6 separate regions of the Homo sapiens genome follow, and all the other regions are linked to region 1. Evidence: promoter capture Hi-C in 16 types of primary human blood cells and fetal thymus (Javierre and others, 2016). All regions are on one chromosome and are shown on one strand. Each heading gives the region's core, a stretch centred on a gene start or on the middle of the fragment in contact. The rest is flanking DNA. Distances are from core to core; before and after follow the strand shown.

Evidence for each region. The method cuts DNA at HindIII sites, captures the fragments that hold promoters and counts their contacts. A CHiCAGO score of 5 or more calls a contact.
Region 2: a fragment that was not itself captured here is called in contact with the fragment with the promoter of CLEC14A in region 1 in 2 of 17 cell types (neutrophils and naive CD4 T cells); the score reaches 11.7 in neutrophils.
Region 3: a fragment that was not itself captured here is called in contact with the fragment with the promoter of CLEC14A in region 1 in 2 of 17 cell types (neutrophils and naive CD4 T cells); the score reaches 12.8 in neutrophils.
Region 4: a contact is called between a fragment that was not itself captured here and the fragment with the promoter of CLEC14A in region 1, in 2 of 17 cell types (neutrophils and naive CD8 T cells). The highest score is 6.0, in neutrophils.
Region 5: a contact is called between a fragment that was not itself captured here and the fragment with the promoter of CLEC14A in region 1, in 1 of 17 cell types (endothelial precursors). The highest score is 6.2, in endothelial precursors.
Region 6: a fragment that was not itself captured here is called in contact with the fragment with the promoter of CLEC14A in region 1 in 1 of 17 cell types (endothelial precursors); the score reaches 5.2 in endothelial precursors.

Annotation. Positions count from the first base shown.
Region 1 is chr14:38,254,511-38,257,599 of GRCh38, reverse strand. It overlaps CLEC14A (C-type lectin domain containing 14A), which reads left to right and starts at 1,507. Exons shown (of 1, transcript NM_175060.3): 1 at 1,507-3,089. The coding sequence starts at 1,578. The coding sequence ends at 3,050. LOC112268136 (a long non-coding RNA gene) reads right to left here and starts at 1,555. Exons shown (of 5, transcript NR_169588.1): 1 at 1,155-1,555. RefSeq lists an enhancer at 1,698-2,325. The HindIII fragment of the contact is 4,914 bases long and covers 1-3,089 here.
Region 2 is chr14:37,976,974-37,980,264 of GRCh38, reverse strand. No RefSeq gene overlaps it. Among named protein-coding and RNA genes, the nearest start is that of LINC00517, 76 kb to the right of the region's middle. The HindIII fragment of the contact is 8,676 bases long and covers 1-3,291 here.
Region 3 is chr14:37,960,423-37,963,778 of GRCh38, reverse strand. No RefSeq gene overlaps it. Among named protein-coding and RNA genes, the nearest start is that of LINC00517, 60 kb to the right of the region's middle. The HindIII fragment of the contact is 1,688 bases long and covers 775-2,462 here.
Region 4 is chr14:37,995,402-37,998,685 of GRCh38, reverse strand. No RefSeq gene overlaps it. Among named protein-coding and RNA genes, the nearest start is that of LINC00517, 95 kb to the right of the region's middle. The HindIII fragment of the contact is 2,739 bases long and covers 554-3,284 here.
Region 5 is chr14:38,566,910-38,570,042 of GRCh38, reverse strand. No RefSeq gene overlaps it. Among named protein-coding and RNA genes, the nearest start is that of CLEC14A, 310 kb to the right of the region's middle. The HindIII fragment of the contact is 2,774 bases long and covers 172-2,945 here.
Region 6 is chr14:38,536,798-38,540,258 of GRCh38, reverse strand. No RefSeq gene overlaps it. Among named protein-coding and RNA genes, the nearest start is that of CLEC14A, 280 kb to the right of the region's middle. RefSeq lists an enhancer at 3,115-3,461. The HindIII fragment of the contact is 1,240 bases long and covers 1,299-2,538 here.

The DNA.
Region 1 (3,089 bases), core at 258-2,757:
GAAGCATACAGATGTGATCCTGAAACCTTCCCTCCCACCCCTCATCAACCTGAATGCAGTAAAACAAAGTGAGCTTATATGCATTATCCATGGAATGGCAACTTTCATTCTGATTAAAGATATTTAAAAGCATCAGACATCTCTAAGAGGGCTTAGCTGAAACTCTCTATGTATTTCTGATGGCAACGTATTTGGCCATTATGAACCAAGATAGAATGTACGTTTTCTAAACTGATACTGAATTGTCTAAGTTGCTAACAAGAAATCCTTTCATAACAGTACAGTTTTTAACCTTTACTTCTTTATTCATCTTTAATTCCTTGCCACTTCCCACTGAGTTGAAATGTTTATATTAAAACAAAACACCCACTGGAATTCTAAAGAAATTGGCTCACCCATCTTTCAAATTACAAGATATTTTTTGACAGTATACAATATTCATTATAATGGAATAAACATTTTAATTTCTTAAGGAACTCTAATTTTCCTTAAAGGAGATGTTTACAACTTACTATTATAAATGCTGCCACTCAATCATAGGAGAAAATGATACTAAAATAGTTCAAGGCTAAAATCACACATAGGGCAGTTGTTCTCGAATATTTATAAGGCCACGAACTCATTTATGTATAACCTATAAACTTGAAGAATTTTTGAACCAATACAGTGGCAAGGAAAGCTAACAACCTAACTGTTAAGATCTATGGTCATTATTTTTCATTTAGTCCTAGAAATACATTTCCTTTCTGTAATGAATCAATATGGTCTAACTCAAAGAGAAACACGTGGAAGTGAAAAATAAATTTCTAAAGCAAGTGCTGATGGAAGAAGCAGAATTTCCCATTTAAAATACCCAAACAACTCCAAATTCTTTAGTAGTTAGGACTCCTGAAATCTCTTGACATAATAGAGAAGCAAAGACCCATAGAGAGATATGCGGTTAAATAGTGCTGCCTCTGGTGGCAAAAGCAGTTGCTAAGTTGTTTCACAACATATTTTTCCCCCACAGGCACAGGCCCCCCAAACACTGGAGCCGTCTACGAATTATTCTGACGCTAACTCCACAGCTCCGGACAGAAACACAATAGACGGGCGTGGTCTTATAATCATAAGCCAGTTCCTTTCTCAAGTCCTTCCTGCCTATGTTCGCTTACGTGTTATGGGTTCTGCGGTCCTGATGAAACTCCCTGAACGGAGAAAAACCACACACTTCATCCCAGTGGCGAATTTCTCCTCTTGCTCTAAGCAGGGTGTTTGACCTTCTAGTCGACTGCGTCCCCTGTACCCGGCGCCAGCTGTGTTCCTGACCCCAGAATAACTCAGGGCTGCACCGGGCCTGGCAGCGCTCCGCACACATTTCCTGTCGCGGCCTAAGGGAAACTGTTGGCCGCTGGGCCCGCGGGGGGATTCTTGGCAGTTGGGGGGTCCGTCGGGAGCGAGGGCGGAGGGGAAGGGAGGGGGAACCGGGTTGGGGAAGCCAGCTGTAGAGGGCGGTGACCGCGCTCCAGACACAGCTCTGCGTCCTCGAGCGGGACAGATCCAAGTTGGGAGCAGCTCTGCGTGCGGGGCCTCAGAGAATGAGGCCGGCGTTCGCCCTGTGCCTCCTCTGGCAGGCGCTCTGGCCCGGGCCGGGCGGCGGCGAACACCCCACTGCCGACCGTGCTGGCTGCTCGGCCTCGGGGGCCTGCTACAGCCTGCACCACGCTACCATGAAGCGGCAGGCGGCCGAGGAGGCCTGCATCCTGCGAGGTGGGGCGCTCAGCACCGTGCGTGCGGGCGCCGAGCTGCGCGCTGTGCTCGCGCTCCTGCGGGCAGGCCCAGGGCCCGGAGGGGGCTCCAAAGACCTGCTGTTCTGGGTCGCACTGGAGCGCAGGCGTTCCCACTGCACCCTGGAGAACGAGCCTTTGCGGGGTTTCTCCTGGCTGTCCTCCGACCCCGGCGGTCTCGAAAGCGACACGCTGCAGTGGGTGGAGGAGCCCCAACGCTCCTGCACCGCGCGGAGATGCGCGGTACTCCAGGCCACCGGTGGGGTCGAGCCCGCAGGCTGGAAGGAGATGCGATGCCACCTGCGCGCCAACGGCTACCTGTGCAAGTACCAGTTTGAGGTCTTGTGTCCTGCGCCGCGCCCCGGGGCCGCCTCTAACTTGAGCTATCGCGCGCCCTTCCAGCTGCACAGCGCCGCTCTGGACTTCAGTCCACCTGGGACCGAGGTGAGTGCGCTCTGCCGGGGACAGCTCCCGATCTCAGTTACTTGCATCGCGGACGAAATCGGCGCTCGCTGGGACAAACTCTCGGGCGATGTGTTGTGTCCCTGCCCCGGGAGGTACCTCCGTGCTGGCAAATGCGCAGAGCTCCCTAACTGCCTAGACGACTTGGGAGGCTTTGCCTGCGAATGTGCTACGGGCTTCGAGCTGGGGAAGGACGGCCGCTCTTGTGTGACCAGTGGGGAAGGACAGCCGACCCTTGGGGGGACCGGGGTGCCCACCAGGCGCCCGCCGGCCACTGCAACCAGCCCCGTGCCGCAGAGAACATGGCCAATCAGGGTCGACGAGAAGCTGGGAGAGACACCACTTGTCCCTGAACAAGACAATTCAGTAACATCTATTCCTGAGATTCCTCGATGGGGATCACAGAGCACGATGTCTACCCTTCAAATGTCCCTTCAAGCCGAGTCAAAGGCCACTATCACCCCATCAGGGAGCGTGATTTCCAAGTTTAATTCTACGACTTCCTCTGCCACTCCTCAGGCTTTCGACTCCTCCTCTGCCGTGGTCTTCATATTTGTGAGCACAGCAGTAGTAGTGTTGGTGATCTTGACCATGACAGTACTGGGGCTTGTCAAGCTCTGCTTTCACGAAAGCCCCTCTTCCCAGCCAAGGAAGGAGTCTATGGGCCCGCCGGGCCTGGAGAGTGATCCTGAGCCCGCTGCTTTGGGCTCCAGTTCTGCACATTGCACAAACAATGGGGTGAAAGTCGGGGACTGTGATCTGCGGGACAGAGCAGAGGGTGCCTTGCTGGCGGAGTCCCCTCTTGGCTCTAGTGATGCATAGGGAAACAGGGGACATGGGCACTCCTGTGAACAGTTTTTC
Region 2 (3,291 bases), core at 553-3,052, 280 kb after region 1:
CCAGTCAGAATGACTATTATTAAAAAGTCAAAAAATAATAGATACTGGGGAGGTTGTGGAGAAAAGGAAACACATACACTGTTGGTGGGAGTGTAAATTAGTTCAACCATTGTGGAAAGCAGTGTGGCAATTCCTCAAAGAGCTAAAAGCAGAACTACCATTCAGCCCAGCAATCCTATTATTGGGTATATACCCAGAGGAATATAAATTACTCTACCATAAAGACACATGCACATGAATGTTCATTGTAGTCTCCTCATTTTCAGGAGCTTTCTGTTTGTTCCCTACTATGAACAACACTGAAAATAGCTAGTTATCTTTTGTATCTCTTCCTCTTCCTCTCCCCTAACATCAAATTTTAAGTAACATTTTACTTTATTACCAATAAGCCCACCAGAGAGTTTATATTATATTTTATAAATGTGCCCCATTCCTCTCCTGCCATTTTTCAGAGTCATTTTTATCTACAGTGTCAGAACACAGTTGTCATGTACTATACTGTTTCCCTTACATCTGTCATTTAGCCTCAGTTTTACAAGTAAATGTATATTCAGTGCTCATAGATAAATAGTCAATACTTTGTAGTCACTTTTGTTGTTTGAAGATTTCTCAGGAAGGAATGTTAGAAACAATATCCTCTTGAGCATGTTCATAAGAGCACCTTTATGCTTGACAGTCAGTTTGACAGGATATAAAACTTACATTTTTTTTTTACTTTAGTAGGTGTTACTATTTTAGCATAAACCATTGCTGTTTAAAAAAAAAAAAAAAGTTGTTTTAACTATGACTTTTTTCCTCTTATAAGTGACCTGAATGTTTCACCTGAAAACTCAGTTTGTTTTTTTCTTCGAATTCTTTTTTTTTTTTTTTGAGACCAAATCTCGCTGTCACCCAGGCTGAAGTGCAGTGGTGTGATCTTGGCTCACTGCAACCTCCATATCCCCAATCCAGCAATTCTTCTGCCTCAGCCTCCCGAGTAACTGGAACTACAGCTGCGCCACCATGCCCAGCTAATTTTTGTGTTTTTAGTAGAGACAGGGTTTCACCATCTTGGCCAGGCTGGCCTCAAACTCCTGACCTTGTGATCCACCCACCTTGGCCTCCCAAAGTGCTGGGATTAGAGATGTGAGACACCGCACCTGGCCAAAAACTTTAAGTTTTTTTTCTTTTTCTGATTCGCCTACTTGGTTTATTAGAATATGTGTCAGTGTCAGCTGTTCTGAGACAATTTTCTTATAAACATAGAGTTGCTTCAAGACCTTTTTTACTTCAGGAAACTATTCTTGAAACATAGCTCTTAGTATTATTTTGTCACATTGCTTTTCTTTGTGGGGACTCAAATATATTATATATTTTTGTCTACCTTATATACCTGTAACTTTCTTTGAAGTCATTTTATTTTTGTTTTCAAATGTTTAATCTTTTCTATTTTTCTGCTTTCCATTATCTATTGGTCTCATAGTATCCACGCTGTTATCTGCAATTCCTTCTAAGTAGTGTCTAGTTCTAAAATGGGTTTTTTCCCCTTTGTTATATTTTTAGTGTGGCCAGTTCTCCTTTCAAATCTTCCTTTCATCCAATCATTTTGTCACTTAGTTTTTCTAATTTATGATGTTCTTCATAGTTTCTAAAAATATTTATATTTCTTTGAGATGGTTTTTGAAACACTAGTTAATGGTTTTTACCTGATTGCTATAAAAATGTTGCTCTGCTTCCATATTCTCTTTATCTTGTAATGAATCTGTGTGGGATGTGACTCATGTCTTCTGCTGTGGCTTCATCTTTAAGTGAGATGGGTCCCCCTGTCCTTTTAGGTGTTTCTATGTGCTAGGTCAGTGGGGGCTTAGGGTGACTTTCATGCCTTCATGACTCTAGGGCTTTCTTTTGTGTTGCTGTTAAGAATGTCAGCAAATAGGTTCTCATACTCACTGCTCCTCTGTCCCTTTTCCTTATTCTTTTCCTAGATTTTGTCTTTCCTCTGCTCCTAGAACCCATGCACTGCTCAATCTGGATCCTACTCCCAACAGTTGGTCTTCAGCGAAGGTCTATGTCCAGAAAGGACACTTTTGTCTGTTAATTTTGAGAGTTCCTAGGACCCGAAACTCCCCATAACTTCTTAAGCATGTATCCTTCCTTTAGCCCCCTCACACTCGCTGGGACATTAGTACAACAAAGCCCCCTCCCAGTTTTTGATACTGTTCTCAGAAAAGCCAGTTGCACTCCCCTCATTGAAAGGGAGCCTGTTTATTTTTGACTTTGTTGGCTCTCCCTCTGCCTACCCCACTTTCTCCAACACAGTTGTTTAGACAGCATCCTTCTTGTTGCTATTATTGGTTTGCTTTTTGTATTTTTGAATTCATGGGGTATCTCACTCCTCTTATTTTTGTAGAGGTTTCCATATTTTTTGTTATTGGTGGTGGTAGTAGTGGTTTTGTTATCTACCTTTATTGCCCACTTTTGAGTGGAATTCAAGGAGATTTAAAAGCTATGTCATTACCCTTTTGCCTTCTCTCTTATTATTTCAACTTCACAGAGCAATTTTTAAATTAATTTATTTAATATATTTATTAATATATTAGTTTAATACAATCATTTAATAAAAACTTATTTAATAAGAATTAATTTAATTATCACCTATGTATTACTCATATCTTTTACAAGACATCAAACTCCAAAAATAGAAACATCCCAGAACTACAATGAGATAGCATTTCACACTCATTAGGATAGCTACTATTATTTAAAAAAAGAGAAAAGAAAGATAATAGAAAAAAATAGTGTTGGTGAAGATGTGGAGAAATTGGAACTCTTGAGCACTGTTGGTAGAAATGTAACATGATGCAGCTGCTATTGAAAACAATATAGTAGTTCCTCAATAAATTTAAAATAGGATTCCCATATTATCCAGCAACTCCACTTCTGGGAATTGAAAGCCACATCTCAAAGAGGTATTTATACACCCATGACCATAGAAGTTATATTCACCGTGTCTAAAAGGTAGAAGAAAGCAAGTGTCCATCAATGCATGAATGGATAAACAAAATGTGGAATACACAAATAACGAAATACGTTTCCACTTCAAAAAGGAAGGACATTCTGACACATGCTACAACATGAATGAATCTTGAGGACATCGTGCAGACTAAAATAAGCCAGTCACAAAAAGACAAGTACTGTATGATTTCACTTATACAAAGAACCTAGATTAAACAAATTCAAAAAAACAGAATGAGGAATGGTGGATAGGATAGGAGGAGCAGGGAATGGGAAGTTGTTGTTTGATGGGTACAG
Region 3 (3,356 bases), core at 369-2,868, 290 kb after region 1:
AGATTACTCCAGCCTGGGTGAGAGAGCGAGACCTTGTCTAAAAGAAAAAAAAAAAGCAAGAAAGAAAATAAAAGATGAGAAAAGAAAATTAAAAAAAAAAGACAGATGGAAACAGTATGCCCCAAATGACCTAGATATTGTGGGAAAATCAAAGAAAAAGACACATTCACATGAAGATACATGGATAATAGAATGAATAAAAATGTACCAAAGTCTTAATAGTAGTTATCTTTGGGTAGTGATTTTATAGGTGGTGCTCATTTTCTTTTACATATTTTTCTGAGTATCCTACATTTCCTAAAATGAGATTATGTTATTTTCTACTTTAAAACATGATCTAACCATCACAACTTAACAAAGTATAGATTTTAGAGAAAAGTACACAAAATACAATTTGGCTAAGCATAAAAAATGATTAAATTGAGACACATGATGTTTTCCTAAAATAATTTAGAGTGTTTATTTTGTCGGCTTATTCAAAATTGAAACCTCAAAAAGAAATGTAGGATTCTTGATTCCTCGGTACTTTGATGAACTTGAAGATGTGGTTTGAAATCACTATCTTCTTAAAAATGGATAGATATCGACCATCTGTTGCCTGTTTAGAAACAAATGTACCATTACCAGGAGAATTTTCTAAGAAAATAGGTGGAGTTTCATGCTTTCTTTTAAGATCCCGGAAGCCCTGCTCTTGGTTTGATTTAATTTAGGACAAAATAGGGTCTTCCATTTTGCTTCAATATGAGTTATATGGACCACTTGTTTCCGAAAGCTTTGGAGGGTGGGGAGGAGAGGTAAGGAGAGAGGAAAGGAAGGAGAGAATAAAATAAAGAAGGAAAGAAGAGTGCTTTTTGTTTGGGATGGGACAGTTATGTCAAATACAATTGCACACCCACACCAGCTTTGATAACTTGGTAATGACTGTTTTTGCTGAGAAGAATTCTGAGGTTGCATCTGATGTAGCTGGAAAGTATGGTATTATCAATGAATGATGTCTGTGTAAGTGTGCAAGGGAAGGTACTTGTCATATCTGAAGTCTGGGATAGGACCGGCAATAGGACAGACAATGTATCATCAGTCTAGTAGTTTTGCTGTCAATATATTATGTGACTTCCATGTAGAAACTTCATTCAAGTTTCTGTCAGCCTATTATTGATTAAAAGCATAATGTTTTGCTTTTAAATCAAGTATGTTCATCTATTGTGATTTGAAAAAAATACTACTGCTACTACCCTCAGGTTTTTAAGAAGAAATAGTGTATTTAGTAAGTTATTACTGTTCAGAATGAAATCTAGAAATATTAGTGACATGGTTTGGTTCTATGTCCCCAAATCTCATGTCGAATTGTAATTCCCAGTGTTGGGGGAGGTACCTGGTTAGAGGTGATTAGATCATGGGGGCAGATTTCCCCCTTGCTGTCTCATGATAGTGAGTGAGTTCTCATGAGATCTGGTTGTTTAAGCTGTGTAGCGCTTCCTGCTTTGTTCTCTCTCTCTCCTGCTGCCATGTGATTATGTGCCTGCTTCCCCTTTTCCCTTCCACCATTGCTATAAGTTTCCTGAGGCCCCCCAGGCCATGCCTTCAGTACAACCTGTGGAACTGTGAGTCAATTGAACCTCTTTTCTTTACAAATTACCCAGCCTCAGGTAGTTCTTCATAGCAGTGTGAAAATGGACTAATACAATTAGCATACAAATTTAAGTCATGACAGGGTCCCCAATATTTTACAGTGTGGACCATAGGGTAGCTGATCAGAATCAGAAGGGGGCTTCTTGACACTGCAGTTTTCCTGGGTCCCACCCTCTATATTCTCAATAAAAATCACTGGGGACTAGGATCTAGAAATCTACATTTTTAACCGGTACACCAACTGATTCTTATGCACCCAAATTTGAGACCCACTGACCTAAACTTCTGAGAGAAATTTGCCATTCACTCCACAGTGCTTTCTCAACTGCCCTACCACCTCCACCATTACTCTTGCTAAAAACAAAACAGTGCCCAGATTATTCTCTATTCCAAACCTAATTTTCTAGATCAACCTCTGAGAAACAAGTATACTCCCTCCTAACTCTGAATATTAACAATCCTCCCAGAAGACACCGTTAGCATGCTCCAAAAAATTTTGGAAAACGCTGCTGGCAGCTTTAATTAAAATTATGAGTTCCTCTACTCTTGCATTCTCACTAATATGATCTATAGCCTTTTGGAAGTTGAGGCATCTTTCATAATAAATGTGAAAATGACCTCAGCAGCATTTCCATTATGATGGACATGAATTATGACTTATGATTTTTTTCAAATCTGATTTTAAGCATAGTATCAGTAGGAGTAGCAGCCTAGTGGATAATGACTGACTGCATAAAATGCTTTCCCTATATCAAGCCCTGTATACTTTATGTACAAATATCCTTGGACTTGCATTGTGTATGTCTAAATTATATTTAGGCTCCACTGAAGCTTAAACCATTTCTTTCACATAGTTACCATAGTGCTTTACCCCAAGCAAGCACATATTCTTCATATTTTGCACCCCCACCCCCTTATTCCCAGGCAGCAAAATATGGATTTGAAGGAAGCCTTTCACTTTATGGGGTCTTATTTGAAATATAAAGAATTTTAAATGACCTCATGTCAGCAAATCCAAAAGATCTCTAAAAAGAATATTATCAATTAAGATGATTTATGACATTGACTAATCTTGGCCAAGGTAGAAAAACACATCTAATGAGAAATGCCTCCTAGAGTGCAGTTGCCATAACAGCAGGTGCATCAGGCTTTAATACTGTGCTGACTCTTCCTTCCATTGTAAACCCTGGAAATTTACTACTGGCCATGGCACTGCATGCAGTTGTGGCCCTTTGACAAAAAGAAAAATTGTATTTAAAGTTTTGAACCTATACTAGCTCTAGTAAAAAGACAGATGGCTCCATAAAATATGCAATAAAAGCGGTCTCTAGGGTTTTTTGAAAGTAAAAAATATGAGAATTCATTGTGGTGCCATTTGGCCTCTGAGGTTGTGAGTCTGTCAGCATTTCAAGTCCTAACTTCTGCATTTTAAAATTCTGTATGGACAATAGTAGTGTCCTACATCATTGAAAAAAAGTTCTCTCCAGAAAACTATCTTTTCCATATATATGTGTGTGTGTGTGTATATATATATATACACACACATACAAATGTATATATATATATTCATTTGGGAATCACAGAAAAGTATTGTTTTATATCTTAAATAAGATAATAAGATAAAGGGCTTCTTTTGAGGTTTTTTTTTTTTTTTTTTTTTGCCCTTAAAATTGTGTGTGTAATAAAGGGGCACATATTTAACATATTCATTTCAGTCAGGGAAACAC
Region 4 (3,284 bases), core at 674-3,173, 260 kb after region 1:
TGCTCTGTATAATAAAGGGTTAAGTACTTCAGATAGTACCAGTGGATTTATTAATGTATTGAATGTAAAAGGCATAAAAAATCTTTAGAAAAGATGTTTAAGTGAAATCCCATTAGTGTGCTAAAAGGAAAATATACTGGATGAACAAAACAATCACTAAGAAAGAAAAGAATAATAATGAATGGTGGTCCCGACTCCCTCATTTACTGGCGGTAAAATGAACTAACATTCCAGAACAATATCTGATTAACTAAGCCACTGAATTGGAGAGGTAACTAGCAGAACCCACTGGTGTGGTATGGCTACTCCATTGTAGAGCTTTTTATTCTCTCTGTGACTTTGAAGGTAGACAAGAAGTTAAATATTACCACATCCTTCAACACATGAGTCTGTGCTAGAATAGTGCAGTTTGAGATTCATCCAGATAGTCTTGAGTTCCTAGGAAAAATTAGCATTTTTACTAATTCCTCTGTGCCTCCATTTCCTTGGCTGTAAATGGAAGTAGCGCTAGTGACTATGTCATAGGAGTGGTGCAAAAATTAAATGTAAAGCTTTAGAAGAGTGTGTGGGATATGGAAGGCATGATATGTGTTTGATATCATGGTGATAATGATGACAACAGTGATGACGATGATGATGATTCCCTTCCTAATTGGAAAGCACTTTCCTCGAACACTTTAGTGATATAAAAAGACAAATTATTGCTTTTTAATATTAGGCCATGGTGTAGATTGTATTATTGGCCTCAATTCGTCACCTCCTCTTTGTATCCATGTCTTGGATATTTTGGCTAATGGAATGACGTGTTGGAAGTGACATTGCGTCCATTCCACATCTAGGCCTTAAGATGTGTTGCATGCCCCCTTGCAGCTTGACACTGCCATGACAAGAACATGCATCAGGGAGTCTGCTGGTCCAAGGAGATTAAAAGATTACATGAAACAGACCAGTAGACCTGGAGCATAAGTATGTGTTTATTGTTAATGTCATTGGGATTCTGTAATTCTTTTTTACATAGCAATAGCTAACTCAGCCATAATGCAAATAATTGTGAAAATAATAGAAATAAGCAACAAACATAAAATAAACCATGGCTGTAAATGCAAAATTTTGTATAGCTGCAGTCCTGTGTATATGTATGTGTGCATACCAAAACTTATAAAAGTGTTATTTTTAGAAGTACAAAGTGGTCAATTACATATATATATATATATATATATATATATATTCTCTAGCATGTGCATTGTGACTAGTATTTAAAATACATCCTCCTATCATGTTAGGAGAGTTCCCTAAAATTAAGTAAGAAAGATTTTCAAAGAAGATAGTGCATAGATAGCACTCAATGCATATTTGCTGAAAAAGTTATTAAATAAAGACACGAAAAATCAAACAACACTCTGTATTTGCATCCTATTTGACGCATCTCTTCTTGCTCCTGCTCCAGCAATGTAAAAATATGCCTGCTTCCCCTTTGCCTTCTGCCATAATTTTACACTTTGCCTTCTGCCATGTTTGTAAGCATAGAAGCAGAAGCCGCTATTCTTCCTGTACACCCTCCAGAATCATGAGCCAATGAATCCCCTTTTCTTTATAAATTACCCTGTCTCAGGTATTTCTTTATAGCAGTGCAAGAACAGACTAATACAGATGCTAACATAAGGTAATGACTTTCACCACAAGTGAGGTATAAACTCAAGCAAAGCAGCCAGTGTGGTCTGGATGGCTGTGACCTGTGCCCCTGGCCTTCAGGAAGCCAGAGAAAGCCACAGAGCTCCAGAGGCCCTGGCTCTGTGATAGCATCACCTTCAACTACAAGAATTTCACTTTTATACAACCCCAGACTTTTGGAAACTCATTAAGAGTAATAAACGTCAGTTTTCTTTCACAAAATGTATTTGTAGTTTGTGGATATTCCCAAAATCAATACCCTGTGGTAATAATGGTGGACAACAACTCAGTTAATAGAACTTCAGGTTTCTTTATGTCTAACAGTCTTTATGTCTGAAATTAGTGATATCATCCCATTCTCTAGATCCATATCTAATAAATGTACTAAATAAAAACATATTATTCCGCTTCTCTAAACCATTGTGTCGTGCTTTCATCACACAGTTCCCTCATTGAAGTACATGTCTGTGTGTTTACCAAATCTCAGCAGCCCTCATGTTGCTTAGCTTAAATGAATAGTCTCAGGCTGAAATTTGTTGCTTAAAATCATAGGCTGACTCTTTAATTTTTAGTTGCATGAAGAGATTTGCTCTTGTGAAAAGAGCAGCTATTGTCATAATGCTTTCTCTCAATCAGTGTAAAGTGCATCCATTTTAGTAACCATGGTTATTTCCAAAATTGTATCAATTTGAATTAGATGCATTTTTCCTTTGTTAAGGAAAAGGAACTTAGGAGCATTCAGTCCCATGTGCACATTTCATTTTAACCTAACAATGCCTATTTTCAAAATAAGCATTGATGTATTATACTTTTCACCTCATAATCTGCCACTTGCTTTTCTCTCCTAAAATGTAAAAACCAAATCAGTTCAAAACTCTGTTTCAATTAGGCAGGCCTTAATGTAGACTATATTCTTTCAGTAATAATGATATACGTTCATCCATTATAACAAATGTACCACTGTGGTGAAGGATGTTGGTAACATAAGAGTCTATGCATGTGTGGGGGGAGTGGATACATGGAAATTTCTAAAACTTCCTCTCAATTTTGCTGTGAACCTAAAACTACTCTGAAAATTAAAGTCTACTTTAAAATTTTAAAAGGTCCTCTAACTGCACAAAATCCATTTGTTACTTGAAACCTATGAACTGCTTCTTAGGTCATGTTTCGGAACTTTGTGAGGGCCTCAAGGGCAAGGACTATATTTTACTCAGTTGTGTGTTTGTGTGACGTTATAAGTTGAATTGTGTCCCCAAAAATTCATATGTTGAAATCCTAACTCCTAGTAACCTCAGAATGTGACCTTATTTAGAAACAGGGTCATTGCAGATGTAATTAGTTAAAATAAAGTTATTCTGGAGTAGGTTAGGCCTATAAGGATACCTAATCCAATAGAACTGTTGTAATTTCTTAGAACAAAGGGCTATTTGGACACATACACACACACAGGGAAAATTTCATGTGGAAATTAAGTTGTGGGCACCAAGGCCCCCTAAAGGTTTGCTGAAAAAATCACTGACATGAGGCAGATTGATTAATAAGAGAAAAGGCACATGAATTTAACGGTATACATGGGAGCTTTCAGAATCAAGACTCAATTCCCCAACAAGTTA
Region 5 (3,133 bases), core at 309-2,808, 310 kb before region 1:
CCTACATCTTGGGTCCTCTTCAAACCTTTAACCATTTTTATTGTTGCTGGTCACTAGAATTCTGAGCCTCCTGAATGCAACCATGGAATAATCCTTGATTATTCCATGGAATATTTCTTATGGAAATATTTCACAGATCTTCTCTTTCTTCTTCCCTCCTCCTCCAAAGCTTTGTTCCTAAACAATCTCTTGCCTACCTACCTCCTTATCCTTCATGCTTCTCATAGTTATAATAATCTTTCTTTTGATAGTATCATTTTTTTTCTTAGAAGCTGAGGTGACTTCCAATTGCTTAATTCGATCAAATAGAGCTTTACTCTTATCCCCAAAACTTCTTCGATTGTCACCTAGGATCTCTGTCTCATCCCCACCTTCCACTCCAAGCTCACATACTATTCCCTCCAACCCTAAATTTGTATTCCTCTACTACTATCTACTAGTTTATAATTTCTACTGTGTAGTAGAAATGATATAGTAGAAATTAACAAAATTATTTATATTTCTTCAGCAAAGCAGAATTCACTGCCATATACAATTCACCAATATTTACTTGCAAATAATCATACTGATACACTATTTTGCAGTATTTATCACTCCTGTCCGTAAGAAAAGCATATTCCCTCTATCTTCTAAACCCCTGCTTAAAACACATTTCAGACAGGAATTTTGTTCATTTTAATGAACTCCCACCATTCCAGCAGCTTTTTGTGATGATCCACATGTAATTGATTGTTCAAGAGATGCCTTATTTAACAAAGTACAGTGTACAAGCATACATAAGATTATGATTGCTTTAATAAATTTGATTCACTACTAGATGCATTTAAATGTTGGGTTATATTTTCTGTAAGCTATAAGAGTTTAAACTAGAAAATAATATTTTCAAGGGTATGAAGTTGCTGTGTACTTATAAATCAATGATTATAAATAAATAAAATGAATTGATTCAAAGACATATGGAAGAATATAAACCTCAGTATAATTTAAAATATATAATAATTAATTTTTAACGTTCTTGGTATTATATGTTCTTTATAAAACTATTCTTGGATATTCATATTTGCCAAACACCTGCTGTAGGTAGTTTTAAAAAATCCTTCTGTAGATTCAGTCTATTCAGTACATTCAGGGATAATAGATTAAAATCACTGTGCCATTAGGTGACTTTCTGGCTTTAAGTTTACTGAGTGTATGCATTAACATAGACAGTACAGAAAACATTAAGAAGAGAGGTAGACTTGCTTCATCCTATAGGATTCAGGGAAAATTTCTAGTAGATGACACTTACAGTGAGTTTTGGAGGAAAAATGATGTTAGCTAGACAGTGGAGTGGGAGAGGTGAGCATTCCAAAAATAGCAAGAAACATATGTGCAGAGACCTGAATATGGAAAATCTGAAAAATTGCTAATATGCAGTACAGCTGGAGCAAAAGATGCATATGGGGTTATGGGGGTAGATATGGCCAGAAAGCTGGGCAATGGCCAGATCATGAAGAGCTTTGTAAACTGTACCAAGGATTTTGGCCTTTATTCTATAGACAATGGGATCTTGCTTGCAATATAGCTTCTATAGGCACATTACGGAAGAAAAAACTCAAACCCTTCTTCCTATATAATGGGCAAAGGCAATATTTAAAAAATTAACTCCAGCTTCCTCTTATAAGAAGAGTGTTGACAAATCAGAATCATAACTGACTTCAATTTTTTCTGAGTTCCTCAGATTTTGTTGCTTTGAAAAGTGCTTTTATCTTGTTTTCAAAGATCCAAAGCATAGAATTTTTACTTGCTTCTAGTAGCTATTTTTCCTTTCACAGATTGTTCCCGTCTTTGAATGTGCCTTTCGAAATGGTGTTTTCCAATTTGATTTTCAGGAGGAAGGCCCTGAGCATGAAAAACATGCATTTTTTTTTCTTAGAAGCAACTGAGCTTTCCTTCTTTCCTGATGCACACAGACAGTTTCAGAATGTGTCAACACTGAGAGTAATTTACAGTTATAAGTTTTTTTTTTTTTGATCTTTGGCAAGCCCTAGAGAGAAGAGGAGATTGATGGTGCATATCATTCCCAGCACCAGATTGGAGGAAAGATTTGTAACTATGATGAGTGTTTTAGTCCAAATTTGAGAGAAACTGGCACCTTTGGCTACATCTGTGCAGTGTAACAGGGAGGATTCAGAAAGCAGGAAGCCATTCTGACTGGTGGAAGATGGTATCTCATTACAGTTTTAATTTGCATCTCTCTGTTGATAGTGATATTTAGCATTTTTAAAAATGTTTCTTGGCTGCTTGTATGCCTTCCTTTGAAAAGTGTCTGTTCATGTCCTTTGCTCACTTTTTAATGGGATTATTTGTTTTTATCTTGTTGATTTATTTAAGTGTTTATAGATTCTGGATATTAGTCCTTTGCCAGATGCATAGGTTGCAAATATTTTCTCCCATTCCATAGGTTGTCTGTTTACTTCATTGATCATTTCTTTTGCTGTGTAGAAACTCTTTAGTTTAATGAAGTCCCATTTGTCTATTTTTGTTTTTGTTGCATTTGCTTTTGAGGTCTTAGTCATAAATTCTTTGCCTAGGCCAACGTCCAGAAGAGATTTTCCTAGGTTTTCTTCTAGGATTTTTATAGTTTGAGGTCATACATGGATTGAGTCTTTAGTTGATCTTGAGTTAATTTTTATATATGGTGAGAGGTAGGTGTCCAATTCCATTCTTCTGCATATGGCTAGCTAGTTTTCTTAGCACCATTTATTGAATAGGATATCCTTTCCTCCTGTTTATTTTTGTTGACTTTGTTGAAGACCAGTTGGTTGTAGATGTCTGGCTGTATTTCTGGATCCTCTACTCTGTTCCATTGGTTTATGGGTCAATTTCTGTACAAGTATAATGCTGCTTTGGCTACTATAACTGTGTGGTGTAGTTTGAAGTTGGATACTGTGATGCTTCAAGCTTTTTTCTTTTTTGTTTTAGATTTCTTTGGCTATTCAGGCTTTTTTTTTTTTGGTTCCATATGAATTTTAGAATTGTTTTTTCTAATTCTTTGAAAAATGATATTGGTAATTTGATAAGAATTACGTTGAATATGTAGCTTGCTTTGGGCAGTGTAGTTATTTTAATGATATTAATTCTTCCAATCCAG
Region 6 (3,461 bases), core at 669-3,168, 280 kb before region 1:
AATTAAAAAAACTCAACATTATAGCCCTTTGCCTTTCAATGAGTTTTGGTGATAGCTTGGCTTTGGAGAATATCAATTTTACTGAACCTCTTTTCTTTAAAATATTAGGTTGGTACAAATGTAATTGCTTTGCCATTAAAGAAATGGGAAAAACCACAATTACTTTTGTATCAACCTAATATTTGCAGGTCCTAAAGAAAATTTGTTTTACTCTGAAAATCAAGAAGTCAAAAAGGCAGACAGTAATACTGAATGACCTTTTACAGGGGCAGCCCTATGTAGTGGGTCCAGGACAAAGTAGCATGGGTTCATGCATTTGTACTCTGGACATAGAATGACAAATGTAATAACCAAAAAACTTTGTTACTAAATTGAGAAATATTTCAACCCTACATTAATTATTACAATTACAGGAAATTACTGAAATGCCAACATTATTTTTTAATTATTTGTATTAAACTTTATTTAAAAGTGATTAATGATTCTTTTCATCATGGCAGGTAATATAGCTAGCGTATATGTGATGAGATGCATACAATTCTTATTTTTTAGTAAAAGTCTACCTATGTTCCATTAACTTTTATAGCATCTAAAATTTAAAGGGAACTCTCCAGTTATTGATACATAGCTAAATAAATTGTGAACTTTCCTTGATGCATAAGATAAATTCTGGTGCAGAGTGAGCAAACAAGGTAAGCAGTACCTCTAATCAAATTAATAATACTTATTCTATTTGCTGTGCAGTGTAAGGATAACTCTTATCTTCCACTTTATTTCTCATTTTCTGTGATTTGAGAAATTACCATCAGATATTCCATATCCTGTGTAATTTGACTCATTGGAACCCAGGGACTTGAGCTTCATTATTATCTCTCAAACATAATAGGTGGAAAGAGCATTAAGCCAGGAGTCAGGATGCCAGAGTTCTGTCCAAATATTGTCAAGGACTTACTTATGACTTTGAGCAAGGCACCTAAAATATTGGTTCCTTATCTGTTATGAAAAACATAAAACTGTATGATTTTTTGAGGCTCCTTCTAATATCAAAATTCTACCTCAGTTTTTGGTTTTCCTTTAACTGTATTTATTCTTTCCAGTTTGACAATTATTCTTTGTGATGCTGTAAAGGGAAGCAAAATAGTTTAATATCTCTATTTCATTTCTGTCATCAGTTAAGTTTTACATCTTTTTAAGATTTAGGCCAAGCTCTACTTATTTTTTTCTCTTTGCTCTAAGCTTAGCTTTAACAAACAAGAAAGGTCTTTTTGGTGGCTTTCTGATTTTTTTTTTGCTAAGCTTTGCTTGCAAGGTTTATGAATCAGACAGAACCAGGGCTTGAATCGCAGCTCTGACTTATGCTTGTTGTGTGAAGTAGGCAAGTCTATCAATTTATCTAAAATTCAATTTTCTCATTTATTAAACTGTGATAATAGTAGAGTCTGCTTCATGGCATTGTTGTGGGGATTACATGAAAAATGACATGAAGTGCTTAGTGCAAATGCCTTGGCACAAAGAAAGCCCTAAAGAAATGTTTTTCTTATTTTTACATTGTGCTGCCATCATCATCATTATCATCATTGTCATTATTACTCTGGAATTTATTTTTGAAAACGATTACTTTTTTATCACTTTCTATTAAAAATCAATAACTATGATATCTCATACATGTAGATAATTTTATAGTTTACAAGGTATTTCTACATGCCAAAGCTGGTCTTTGCAATAATGCTCTGAGTTGAAAAATATTCATATCTCCACACCACAAGAGAGTCTCAGAGAGGTGTAGTAACTTGTCCATGGGACTAACACGGAGAGCTTGGTCTCCTTGTTTACTTCCTGTGATGGTTAATATTGATTGTCAACTCGATTGGATTGAAGGATGCAAAGCATTGTTCCTGGGTGTGTCTGTGAGGGTGGTGCCAAAGGAGATTAACATTTGAGTCAGTGGACTGGGAGAGGCAGACTCACCCTCAATCTGGGTGGGCACAGTCTAATCAGTTGCCAGTGCAGCTAGGATAAAAGCAGGCAGAAGAACGTGGAAGGACTTGACTTGCTGAGTCTTCCATTCCTCATCTTCCTCCCCTGCTGGATGCTTCCTGCCTTTGAACATCGGACTCCAAGTTCTTCAGCTTTGGGACTCTTGGGCTTACACCAGTGCTTTGTCAGGGGCTCTTGGGCCTTCGGCCACAGACTGAAGGCTGCACTGTTGGCTCCCCTACTTTTGAGGTTTTGGGACTCGGACTGGCTTCCTTGCTCCTCAGCTTGCAGACGGCCTATTGTGGGACTTCACCTTGTGATCGTGTGAGTCAATACTCCTTAATAAACTACCCTTCATATGTATGTCTATCCTTTTATTTTGCCATTGCTTTTAATGGCAAAAACAGCAATTACTTTTGCATCAACCTATAGTTCTGTCCCTCTAGAGAACTCTGATTAATTAACTTCCCCAATCCCGTAGTGCATAGTACAGGACACACATCAGGTGGTTTTGTGACAGCATTGTCTGTGATGAGCATCAGCACTAGAAAAATAAAAGCTTCCTTAGAAAAAACTTTATGTTGTGAGAGAATACTGGTATTTTATTATAGAGTGTACATTTGTTGAAATAGAAAAAATATAAGTTTTTTTTTCTTCTGTTACATTGGCTCATAAGTAGAGTTTTTTTTCTTCAAAATTTACTTTTAATTTTGAATAGCATACATATGATACATATTAAAAAGATAGTGTCCAATGCGAGATTCTAGGAGGTTCAGGAGGGTTCCTGAGGTAATAGTTGCGGAGGGGAGTCGTGGTCATAGGGCATGAAAAAGGCCTCAAATTGTGCCTGGGTACATTTGCTGGAGAAGGACACAGACAGACTGGCATGGAAAGTCACACACACTCTCATTTGTTGCACTTCTCTCCTTATTAATCTTCCTCAAATAAAGAGGAAAACAATTGTTTTTGCCTTCTAGGGCACATTTCTGCAAGAAAGTTTGCACCAATTTGAAGAAAAATGGAAAAAGAAGGACAATGCAATGAATTTTTCATAATGCTCCTTTTATGCTAAGATTTAAAAAAAATTCTTAGTTAATAACTTCCTGTTTTGTTGTTGTTGTTGTTTAAAAATGATCTTTTCCTGAAATGATGACAGTTTGCTAACTAGATTTGCTAAAATCTGGTAAATATGGATTGGCTACCAACATTCTTTGACAATTTTATTAGTTCTTGGAATCCAAAACACTGAGGCCTGAGACATCCAAGTGGAGACACAGCTAAGGCCGGGATTATCTGTGTGGTGTTGGAGGCCCTTCGCAAGTGCTTAACAGAGCCCCTCCACTGGCTGCTGCACCCTCTGAGTAAACATCCATCAGACTGAGTGAATGGAATGCAATTTAGATGAGTTCCTTCTGAAAAGCTGTCAGAGAGACTGTGAAATGTGACTACTTTGATTGACTCTCCTACTTTCTCTCTCCCCAAAT